Regions from separate parts of the Homo sapiens genome. Here region 2 is linked to region 1. Evidence: promoter capture Hi-C in human tissues and cell types (Jung and others, 2019). All regions are on one chromosome and are shown on one strand. Each heading gives the region's core, a stretch centred on a gene start or on the middle of the fragment in contact. The rest is flanking DNA. Distances are from core to core; before and after follow the strand shown.

What was found. The method cuts DNA at HindIII sites, captures the fragments that hold promoters and counts their contacts. A contact is called where the count stands out against the background at its distance.
Region 2: a fragment that was not itself captured here is called in contact with the fragment with the promoter of MRPS24 in region 1 in 1 of the 25 tissues and cell types used here (liver).

What each region holds. Positions count from the first base shown.
Region 1 is chr7:43,866,254-43,872,060 of GRCh38, forward strand. It overlaps MRPS24 (mitochondrial ribosomal protein S24), which reads right to left and starts at 3,264. Exons shown (of 4, transcript NM_032014.3): 1 at 3,204-3,264; 2 at 3,055-3,123; 3 at 2,710-2,821; 4 at 305-729. The coding sequence starts at 3,242. The coding sequence ends at 446. It overlaps URGCP-MRPS24 (URGCP-MRPS24 readthrough), which reads right to left. Exons shown (of 7, transcript NM_001204871.2): 5 at 3,055-3,123; 6 at 2,710-2,821; 7 at 305-729. The coding sequence ends at 2,733. It overlaps LOC124901620 (a long non-coding RNA gene), which reads left to right and starts at 3,393. Exons shown (of 2, transcript XR_007060296.1): 1 at 3,393-4,581; 2 at 4,695-5,389. RefSeq lists silencers at 2,976-3,035, 3,336-3,395, 5,663-5,807 and an enhancer at 3,626-3,745. The HindIII fragment of the contact is 19,139 bases long and covers 1-5,807 here.
Region 2 is chr7:43,701,660-43,707,466 of GRCh38, forward strand. All of the region lies in intron 1 of COA1 (cytochrome c oxidase assembly factor 1), which reads right to left. Among named protein-coding and RNA genes, the nearest start is that of COA1, 25 kb to the right of the region's middle. The HindIII fragment of the contact is 9,314 bases long and covers 1-5,807 here.

The DNA.
Region 1 (5,807 bases), core at 2,014-4,513:
CTAACCTCGTGATCTGCCCATCTCGGCCTCCCAAAGTGCTGGGATTACAGGCGTGAGCCACCGTGCCCAGCCTGTTTTGATTCTTAAAAACTAACACTGAATGGGTCTTTCCATCTTGAGAAAAAACAAAGAACTTTTAGGCAAAGTGCTTGACAGAGTGATTGATTGGCACAGGTACTCACCAAACTGTAGCTATGAATTAAACTTCAAACAACTGGCGTCAGCCTTCCTGCAAACCCTGGAGCATCGTCAAAGAAACGCTACTCTAGTTCCCTCATCCAAGAGTAAAAACAGAGAGGCAAGACAAGATAGAAGGTCTTTATTCAATAGCAGATGAGAGACTATGCCTCAGTCCTCTGAGGGGATGCATTTCCCCCACATACCATTCCTTTCCCACGTTTCCATTCTCTGCAGGCTACAGCTTGATGGAAAAAAGGGGATTGTTCTAGAGGTACTTATACACAACCTTTGAGGGCACAGTTTGGAGGTGGAGTCGCACAGGACATTTGTAAAAGTAGGACAGCAAAGTTTCACTGTAGCCCACGAGGAAGTAGTACTTGTGTGGAGACAACTGCCTCAGGACCACGGCACAGATCTCCAACTGGTTACCCCGGCGCTTTAAAACCAGCTGGTCAGCCAGGCAGCCTGGGAAGGTACCCCACATGAACTTGCGAAGGAAAACATCCTCCACCGTTCGCTCTGCGGCATGGTCCTCTCCATCCAGGTTACCTGAAGAGGGAAGGGCATAATAGAAGAATCAGCCTCATTGCCCCAGGGCCCTGCCATAACTCCAGAGTCAACATCCAAAAGCGCTGAGCACAATCCCACCCTTCACCCCCAGCCTCTTCTCTTTTCTTCTGCTAATGGAATAAGAAAAATAACACTTTAAAGTTCAAAGTATGTTATGTCATTAATTCCCAAGCCAATTCAGTTTAGTAGGTATTATCATTATCCTTATTTTACAAAAAGGAAGATGGAGGCCTGAGTCAGGGTACAAAACTCAAGATGATGCCACCACATCTAGCCCCTTTCCTGCTTTCTTGGCTGCCTTATAAAAACACTGGTCATCCCATGGGCCAGAAAGATGAGGCTACCAGCTATTTTTGAGATTAGGGACATGAGCTAGGCCCAGGGCTTCCACCAGTGGGTTCCTCAGTGTGAACTGTGGATCCCCTGCAGCCCTTACAATGTCCACTAAGAGTCTGCACACCTACATCCAAACCTCAGACCAGAACCTGAAAGAGTGGGAGACAAGCATCTCTCTCTCTTTTTTTTTTTTTTTTTTTTTTTTTTTGAGATGGAGTCTCACTCTGTCGTCCAGGCTGGAGTGCAGTGGCGTGATCTCGGCTCACTGCAACCTCCGCCTCTTGGGTTCAAACAATTCTCTGCCTCAGCCTCCTGAATAGCTGGGATTGCAGGCGCCCGCCACTACGCCCAGCTAATTTTTTTGTATTTTTAGTAGAGATGGGGTTTCACCATCTTGGCCAGGTTGGTATTGAACTCCTGACCTCAGGATCCACCCTCCTCGGCCTCCCAAAGTGCTGGGATTACAGGCGTGAGCCACCGTGCCAGGCAAGCATCTGTATTTTAAGTAAGTTCTCTAGATGCATCTCAAACATCCAAGAACCCCTGTACTAAACAAAGCACAGTTGGTTATCAATTGTTCACAATAGTTATATTCTATAAAGTCACTGCCAACACTGACTTAGTGAATACTGAACCATTGCTCCTAGGTGAAATACAGGGTTAGATTCCTTTCAGCCTCTGGGCACCGTATTTTTGTTAACAAATCAATACATAACCTAGTTTCCTTTGTGTTTCTGTTTAAAGACACCTTGTTTAATATATATGGTAGATTCACTAACATTGAATTCAGGGCCAAGAGCAACTCATGACTGAAGAAAGATTCTCTAATACATGTATGTTCTCCCTAAGGCACGTCACAGCCTTCTCCCGCTTAGGAACACTAGATAGCACTTCAGCATTGCAAGGCCATTTTAAACAGCAAAATCACTAACAAAAAGCACGAAAATGCAAATTAAAAAAAAAAGATTCTAGACCATAAAAAGGACACCTTTTACAGTACGAGAGCTGAAACTAGGCAGAGCCTTGTCGACCTCAGCTCGGGACATGCACCTGGGGTGGCAGCTCCACCCACATCTCAGAGTGACCTTGAGAGTGCCCAGAGTGTTGATTTGGGGCTTACAAATAAATTTTAGTCAGTAGAAGAATCTGAAAATATGGAATTCATGAATAACGAGGGTTGTCTGTATATATTTACAGAGAAAAATTTGTGCTTTAGTGGAAAACTGCATTCCTTAGAGCACACTGTTCAGGGTTATCAGATTCTGCAACGGTTTCACTCCTTTCCTTGACTCTGAGCTATTTTACAGCTCTGTAAATTACAGATAACTGACAGGAATGCAAAATAATTCTTGTCTGTAGACATGCAAATAATTTCTGTTCAGTGGAGGATCAATTGAGTCCCTGCCTGCCATGGAAAAAGTCAGTTTTGCATCCATCTTCAAATTTGTTTCAACATCCTGATCTATATATATCTCTGCTTTTTTATGTCTCCCTTGAGTTGGTTTCATAGATTTCTGACCCTAGCATTATTTCCTGAGTTAAAGAAAACCTGTGACACGTGTTCATTTTGTTTACATGACAGTCGGATTGAGTGCTCCTTTTGGAGGCCTGGGGTCCGCTCACCTGTGTGCAGCGACAGCCAGCCTTTACGGTGGGCGATGTAGTGCGGCGCGTGTGCCTCCTCGTAGGTCACCGGCTTGTCCCCCTTGCTTACGCGTACTCGGGCCGCCCGGTTCTAGGAGCAAAAGGGGCCGTGACTCCACGAGATCCCCGATCCAGACCCCTACTTCGCGCCATGTCCCCCCAGTCAGCTGGCACTGTTCCCCGGCCCCAATCCCCTGATCCCTAAGCCCCGACCCTAGCCCCGCCTCGGACCCCAGCGACACGCCCCCTTCAGCCCGCACGGCTTCCCCGGCCCCCGGCCCCCCGGCCCCCAGGCCCCCAGGCCCCTGCCCCGGCGGTGCTCACCTTGGCGCAGACCGGGGAGGTGTGCAGGGCGCGCCAAGCGCAAGGCAGCTCTCGGCTCCAGGACAGCACCTGTGGAGGGAGGGCGCGTGAGGCGGAAACTAGGGACCCCACCTCCGACTCGCAGGGACCTGCCGAGTCGCCCCACTCACCCGTGGCCCCAGCAACCCGCTGCACACGGAGGCCGCCATCTTGGGCCAAGCGGAGCGCGGGACGTACCACAGCGCGCTGAGGGGTGGGGACGACCGCGGACGAGACCAAGTCGGAGCTCGTACTCTGTACTCTGGCGGGGGCGGGGCAGGGCCTCTGCGGGGCGGGGCCGCGGTATGCTGCTAGCTGTTACTCCCGCCTTCCCCGCAGCCCTGTGAATGCTCAGCCTTGTGAATGCTCATCCCGCCGCTGTTCGCTCTCCCGCGGTTGCTGCTTGCATAGGGTTTCAGATCCGGAAATTTGAGGATGCGAAACGTGAGATTTTCTCTTCGACAACCTCACGCTAGTACGGGTGATGGGTGTGCGGCCCACCGGAGCCCGCCCTGCCCAACCTGCACCCTCGGGGCTCGAAGAGGAGCCAAGCGTTTCCCCAGGTCCTAGTTATGCCTCCAAATAATATTCGTAGAAAAACAAAACAGAAAAACCCTCCAGACTTTTATCCACAAATAAAGAAGAAACATATTTTGGTTAAAACGTCACCCAATTCTTCAAGGATGACTTACGCAGTTATGCAAGAATGGGTTTGCCACATGTGACCACAGTGGTGACTGGCCCCTGAGGAAGGAAAATTTTAAGTACGGGGAAGGGGCCGGAGGGCAAGGAGATTCGTGAGAATATCGCAGGGCCTGTAATGCTGAAACCAGTGCGTCGCCACTATTATTGGTATCCAGTAATTATTAATGTCAAACGGAAAAATAGCAACGCGGGATATTTTATTTTAGAAGTCACCACGGTCATGGAAAAAACACGGGCTCTGGAGTCAGACCCATGTATAACAATCTTTGTACAGTTAAGACTCAGTTCTATTATCTATAAAATGGGCCTTAATAATAGTACTACCTTATAGAGCTATTAGGATCAAGAGAATATTTAATCAATGATGGGTTGTGTTTGGTTGAGTGATGTGAAATTGCCAATGTTTTGGCCGTTCTGGGTCTACATCATTCCCCTTAATGGTACAGTACTTGCATACTGCTGCGGTTTCCTGTCAGGGGGAGGACTGGATTATGATCCATGGGAAGGGGAAATGGAAGAACGGTGGAAATGAGTTGCCCATGACCACACTGAGAAGAGGGAAAGAGGGACCAAGACACAAGTCTCTTGACTTCAGTCCAGCCCATTTCCCATGACCAAGATTCCTCTGATTACATGAAGGTGGGTTCTCAAAAAACCCGTAATAAAAGGACAAGGTCTTCCATGTCCACTTCACCAGAAATGTTTTATTCTTACTTTTTAGGAACTGCGGCCCCCAACTGTTATGCATATTGAATAAAGGGACAGAACAGGGATGAGGTGCCCTCCAATGCATACTTTGCAAATGTAAGAACTTTCAACATTTCCTAAGAAATCCTTTTCAACTGACAATTATTTTTTAAAGTTTTCATAATGTTCAATAATTTTATAATTGTTAAGTTTCATTAATTTGCTCCAAGGTGGTGAGGAACATGGGATGTGGCATCTGAATTGCCTGAGTCCAAATCGTGGACCCAATGCTTCCTGGCTGTGTAATTTGGACAAGTGACTGAACCTTCTGAGCCTCGGTTTCTCTCATCTGTAAACTGGGGACAATAATGGTGGTTGTGAGAAGTACAGTATGATGTGCCTGGCAGAGGGAGAGAGCAGTTGTGGGTTTTGTTGTTGTTTTTAACGAGTCCCTGATAGCCACATATCCCGTTAGGGAGATGAGCCAGCTATTGAGGGTTCTGTGAGAACTCATAGCAACACCACCCTAATCAGAGGAAAGGGGAAGGAGAAAGGGAAACAAGATCCTTGGGCTGATCAGAGGCAGAGGTGGCAATGGCACAACACCTATTGGGGCCCAAGGTGGGCAGGGGCCACACCACGAAGGCTGTGGTTGGGAATCAAGTTTAGCCCATAAAGCAGTAGGCAATCAAATGATCAAATTTATGCTTTCCTCTATTCAAGCCATTCTCCCTTATGCCTGAGATCTCTCTCTGGAATTCCAAACCGATCTAGATCTTTCCAAGCATCACAATGGCCATTTCAGTGGCAGACATTTCTGGGGTTCAAATATCTTGTTATCTATCCTTTATTAGCTTTGTTTATACTGTGATTGGGGGAAAGGGGACGTGTCGGTCTTTACATGATTAAAATTACTTAAAATGACTTTTATACATCAGTATGAATGTTATATTGTTTTAAATAATCAGCAGAAAAATCTGACTGGGGATGTTTTATTTTTCTGTAACTTCCATTTGTTGTTGTTTTGATGCACTTTCCTTCTCCTATTAATTCCATAAAGGAGGCAGTATTTCCAGGCTTCACAGAGCAGAAGATGGAGGCTCACAGACTCACCTGAGGTTACAGAAGTAGTAAATGGTAGCAGGCCTTTTTGCTCCAAAGCATGTGCTCTTTCAGTATCACTTCCTGGGGGTGAGGGTTCAGACCATGTTAGGATCAGGGAATGGCCTGGGTTTCTGTGGCTTGCTGCAGACAGCTCCCAAGTGGCCCTCAAGGACTGCCTGGACATGGAAAGGCCAGGAGCATATGACCCCATGTGAAAGACCCATCTGCACCCTTCCTGG
Region 2 (5,807 bases), core at 2,037-4,536, 160 kb before region 1:
TAGTCACAACTGCTTTCCATAATGGTTGAACAAATTTAACTCCCACCAGCAGTGTATATGCATTCCCTTTTCTCTGCAACCTTGCCAGCATCTGTTATTGAGTTGTTAATAGCCACTCTGACTGGTGTGAGATAGTATCTCATTGTAGTTTTCATTTGCATTTCTCTAATAATTAGTGATAGTGAGCATTTTTTCATGTTTGTTGGCCATATATATGTCTTCTTTTAAAGTGTCTGTTCATGTCCCCTGCCCACTCTTTAATGGGGTTGTTTTCTGCTTGTAAGTTTGCTTAAGTTCCTTATAGATTCTGGATATTAGATCATTGTCAGATGAATAGTTTGCAAATATTTTCTCCCACTCTGTAGGGTATCTGTTTACTCTGTTGATAGTTTCTTTCACTGTGCAGAAGCTCCTTACTTTTAGGTCTCGCTTATCTATTTTTGTTTTGTTGCAATTGCTTTGGAAAACTGTCAAGAAATCTTTGCCAAGGCCTATGTCCAGAATGTTGGACCTATGACAAAACCTACGACATAACTGTCCTAGGTATTCTTCTAAAGTTTTTATAGTTTTAGATTTTACATTTAAGTCTTTAATCCATCTTAATTTTTGTATATGATGAAAGGCAGGGGTCCAGTTTCATTGCTCTGTATATGGCGAGCCAGTTATTCCAGCACTATCTATTGAATAGGGGACTCTTTTCCCCATTGCTTACTGTTGTCAACGTTGTTGAAGATCAGATGATTGTAGGTATGCAGCTTTATTTCCAGGCTCTCTATTCTGTTCCATTGGTCTATGTGTCTGTCTTTCTACTGGTACTATGCTGTTTTGGTTACTGTAGCCTTGTAGCATAGTTTGAAGTCGGATAATATGATGCCTCCAACTTTGTTCTTTCTGCTTAGGATTGCTTTAGCCATTTTTGGGTTCAATCTTGGGGGGTTGTATGTTTCCAGAAATTTATCCATTTATTCTAGGTTTTCTAGTTTCTCTACATAGGGGTGTTCATAATAGTCTCTGAGGGTTTTTGTGTTTCTGTGGGGTTGGTGGTAACGTCACCTTTGTCGTATCTGATTGTGTTTATTTGGATTTTCTCTTTATCAAACTAGCTAGCAATCTATCAATCTTATTTATTCTTTCAAAGAACCAACTTTTGGTTTCGTTGGTCTTTTGTATGGATTTTCATGTCTCAATCAGTTCAGCTCTGATTTTGGTTATCGCTTTTCTTCTGCTAGTTTTGAGGTTGGTTTGCTCTTGTTTTTCTAGAGTTCCTCTAGGTGTGGTGTTGGGTCATTAATTTTAGATCTTTCTAAGTTCTTGATGTAGGCATTTAGCACTATAAACTTTCCTCTTAACCTTTAGTTGTGTCCCAAGGATTCTAGTATGTTGTGTCTTTGTTTTCATTAGTTTCAAATATTTTTCTGCCTTAATTTCATTCTTTACCCAAAAGTCATTCAGGAACAGGCTGTTTAATTTCCATGTAATTGTATGGTTTGGGGATCTTCTTGGTATTGAGTTCTATTTTTATTGCACTGTGGTCTGACAGTGTGGTTAGCATGATTTCGGTTTTTGTCTGTTTTAGAATTGCTTTATGGCCAAGCATGTGGTCAATATTAGCATAGGTACCATGTATAAATTAGAAGAATGTATATTCTGTTTTTGTTGGGTGAAGTATTCTGTAGATGTCTGTTAGGTCCATTTGGTCAAGTGTCAAGTTTTGGTCCCAAATATCTTTATTAGTTTTCTGCATTGATGCTCTAACACTGTCAGCAGGGTATTGAAGTCTCCCACTATTGTTGTGTGGTCATCTAAGTTTCTTTGCAGGTCTCTAAGAATTTGTTTTATGAATCTGGGTGCTCTAGTGTTGGGTGCATATATATTTAGGATCATTAAATCTTCTAGTTGAATTGAATCTTTTATCATCCACTATGTAATGCCCTTCTTTGTCCTTTTTTATTATTATTGTTGGTTTAAAGTCGGTTTTGTCTGAAATAAAAATAGCAATCCCTGCTCTGTTTTGTTTGTTTTCTGTTTGCTTACTTGACAGGTCTTTCTCCATCCCTTCACTTTGAGCCTATGGATGTCACTGCATGCAAGATGAGTCTCTTGAAAACAGCATATAGTTGGGTCTTGCTTCTTTATCCAATTAGCCACTCTTTTAAGTAGGTCATTTACATTCAAGGTTAATATTGCTATGTGAGAATTTCATCCTGTCATGTTATTAGCTAGTTGTTATGTAGATAATATACTTGCTTTATTGTGTCAGTGGGCTATGTACTTAAGTGTGTTTTTGTGGTGGCAGGTACCAGTATTTAATTTCCATGTTTAGCACTCCCTTAAGGACCTCTTGTAAGTCTGCTGGTAACAAATTCTCTTAGCATTTGCTTGCCTGAAAAGGATTTTATTTTTCTTTCGCTTATAAAGCTTAGTTTGGCCAGACATAAAATTCTTGCTTGGAATTTCTTTTCTTTAAGGATGCTGAATATAATCCCTTCTGGCATGTAAGGTTTCTGCTGAAAGGCCTCCTATTAGCTGGATGGGGCTACCTTAGTATGTGGCCTGCACCTTCTATATAGCTGCCTTGAAGATATTTTCTCTCATGATGACTTTGGACAACCTGGTGACTATGTGTCTTGGGGAAGGTCATCTTGTATAGTATGTGGGTATGGTACAGGGCTTCTCTGAACTTCCTAAATTTGCATGTCCCTCTATAGCAAGGTTGGGGAAATTTTCACGGAAGATATCCTCAATTATGTTTTCCAAGTCACTGCTCTCCCCCCATCTCTTTCAGGAATGCCAATGAGTCACAGGTTTGGTCTCTTTACATAATCCCATATTTTTTGGAGGTTTTGTTCATTTTTTAACTCTTTTTTCATTTTTGTCTACCTGCATTGATTCAAAGGAGCAGTCTTCAAGTTCTGAGATTCCTTCCTCAGCTTGATCTATTCTGTTATTAACACTTCCAATTGCATTCTGAAATTCCTGTAGTAAATTTTCATTTCTGGAAGTTCAGTTTGGTTCTTTCTTAAAATGGCTTTGTGGTCTTTCAACTCTTGCACTCTTACTGTGTTCCCTGGATTGGGTTTCAACCTTCTCCTCTATGTCGACTAGCTTCCTTGCTATCCAGATTCTGAATTCTATGTCTGTCATTTCAGTCTTTTCAGCCCGGTTAAGAACCATTGCTGGGGAGCTAGTGCAGTCGTTTGGAGGTTAAAAAAACACTCTGGCTTTTAGAGTTGCCAGAGTTCTTGCACTGGTTCTTTCTTACCTGTGTGGGCTGATATCCTGTAATCTTTGAAGTTGTTACTTTTTGCATGGGACTTCTTGCTTTTTATATTCTTTGATGCTCCTGAAAGTTTGACTAATATTTGTTTGGTTTAGTCAACTGGCTTCATTGTGGATGCTTTCAGGAGGCCAAGGCTCAACAGAGCACTCCTGGGCTACATGCTCTAATCCTTGTGGTGCTGGGACCAGGCCTGTGGCTTTATTTTCTGGCTCCTTGAGGTTAAGTACCTACTGCTCTGAAGGAGCTGAGATGTTCCCGGTCCACTGGCAACAACACTCCGATGGCAGCTGCCAGCAAAAGAACTCTGGTGGGGCAGCAATAGGCTCCCACGCACATGCATGCCTGCAGAGTGGCACGGGGAAGCTGTGGGCAAATGCACACTGGCAGGAGAAGGCTGCAGGTGGGCACGTGCCAGCAGGGGAAGGCTACCGGCAGGTGCACATTGGCAGGGGTCTGGGTCCATTTGCAAAAGCACTCCAATGGACAGATACGGTCTTATGGCAAAAAGCTATAGTGATGGCTGCTGGCAAGCTGAGGCTGTGCTGCAAGCAGGTACAGCCAGGCAGGGAGGGACCCTAACAGAGGCCAGCAACGGGCAGTTGGGGGAGGTCCTCAGATCAGACTGGTCCCATTCCACAAGCAAGCCAGCCCTCTATTGTCCAGGTCTGGCAGCCAACAAAGGCTAGAGCTGCCTAGAGGAGTATGGTGTTATGGATATCCACAGCCATGCTCCACTGCAACTGTTCCCACAACAAACCCTCTGGGCTCCATGCAGGCTAGAGTTCCATCTCTGTCAACTCTCCAGGAAGTTCTTCCTGCCAGCTCAGATGTTCATGAGAATCATGGGGTCTCCCACAGGTAGGCTCCCAGAGGTCCGCGGCAAGAGTGGGCCACTCCACATCAATTTCACTCACCCCATCCCTAGGAGCGACTCAGGGCCAGCGACAAACCGACAAACCGTGGTGCTTGGCAACCCTGTGCAGGGTTTCCAGCTTCCTCCCCTTTCAGCCTGGTATCTGCATCCTCCCTCTGTCCACTCTCAATGCCTTCTTTCCAAAGATCTGTTCAGAGTGTGCTGGCCTACTTGATGGCCTGGTCTCAGTGGGAGAGGCTCTTCCTAGCTGCCTCTAGATAGCCATCTTGCTATTTGTCCAAAATTATTGTTAAAGAATAAAGCATGAAAGCAATTTTCATAACTTGAATAAAAGTAAAGTTTTCATCTCCTACACTACTGGAAAAAAAAAATCTCTTTTACACAAATACTTAGAGCATTTTGATTCAAAAGCTAAAAAAGTATATATTAATATTAGAATCCAAGCCAGGCGCAGTGGCTCACGCCTGTAATCCCAGTACTTTGGGAGGCTGAGGCAGGCAGATCACTTGAGCTCAATTCAACACTAGCCTGAGGAACATGGCAAAACCCCATCTCTACAAAAAAATAAATAAATAAATACAAAAATTAACCAGACATGGTGGCACACACCTGTGGTCCCAGCTACTCAGGAGGCTGAGGTGGGAGAATCACTTGAGCCAGGAGGCGGAGGCTGCAGTGAGCCGAGATCATGGCACTGTACTCCAGCCTGGGTAACAAAGCAAGAACACATCTTAAAAAATAAAAAATAAAAAAATAAAAAAATAAAAAAACCCAGCCAGGTGCAGTGGCTCACACCTATAATCCCAGAACTTTAGGAGGGCAAGGTCAGCAGGTCACTTGAGCCCAGGAGTTTAAAATCAGCCTGGACAACATAGTGAAAGACTGTCTCCACAAAAAAATAGAAAAATTAGCTGGGCATGGTGGTGCATGCCTGAGGTCCCAGCTACTTGAGAGGCTGAGATGGGAGGATTGCTTGAGTCTGGGAGGCTGAGGCTGCAGTGAGCTGTGATAGGACCACTGCACTCCAGCCTGGGCAACAGAGAAAGACCTTGTCTCAAAAAAAAGAAAAAGAAAAAGCCAGACATGGTGGCTCACACCTGTAATCCCAGCACTTTGGGAGGCTGAGGTGGGCAGATCACTTGAGATCAGGAGTTCAAGACCAGCCTGGCCAACATGGAGATGCCTATCTTTTCTAAAAATACAAAAATTAGCCGGGCATGGTGGCAGGTGCCTGTAATCCCAGCTAGCTACTCAGGAGGCTGAGGCAGGAGAATTTCTTGAACCCAGGAGGCTGAGGTTGCAGGAGGCTGAAGTTGCAGTGAGCCAAGATCACGCCACTGCACTCCAGCCTGAGTGAATTTTCAAGGGCAAAGCCTTGCTGGCTAAAACTGTCTCTAGTAATCTTTAAAGAGTTCAGTCAAATTAATAAATACAACATCAAGACTGAAACAAATTAATGGGCAAAAGGCATATGCAAATACTTACAAATTAGATGGAGGAGGAGGAAGATCTCATATTGAATATTTACTGGGTATTAAAAACTGAGTGGTTCTTTTTTTTAAAAGTCTATCACACAAAGAAAAGTGCACAAAACATAAATGTTCAGCCCCATGAATTAAAACAAACCAAGCACCCATGTAACCACCAGAGTCC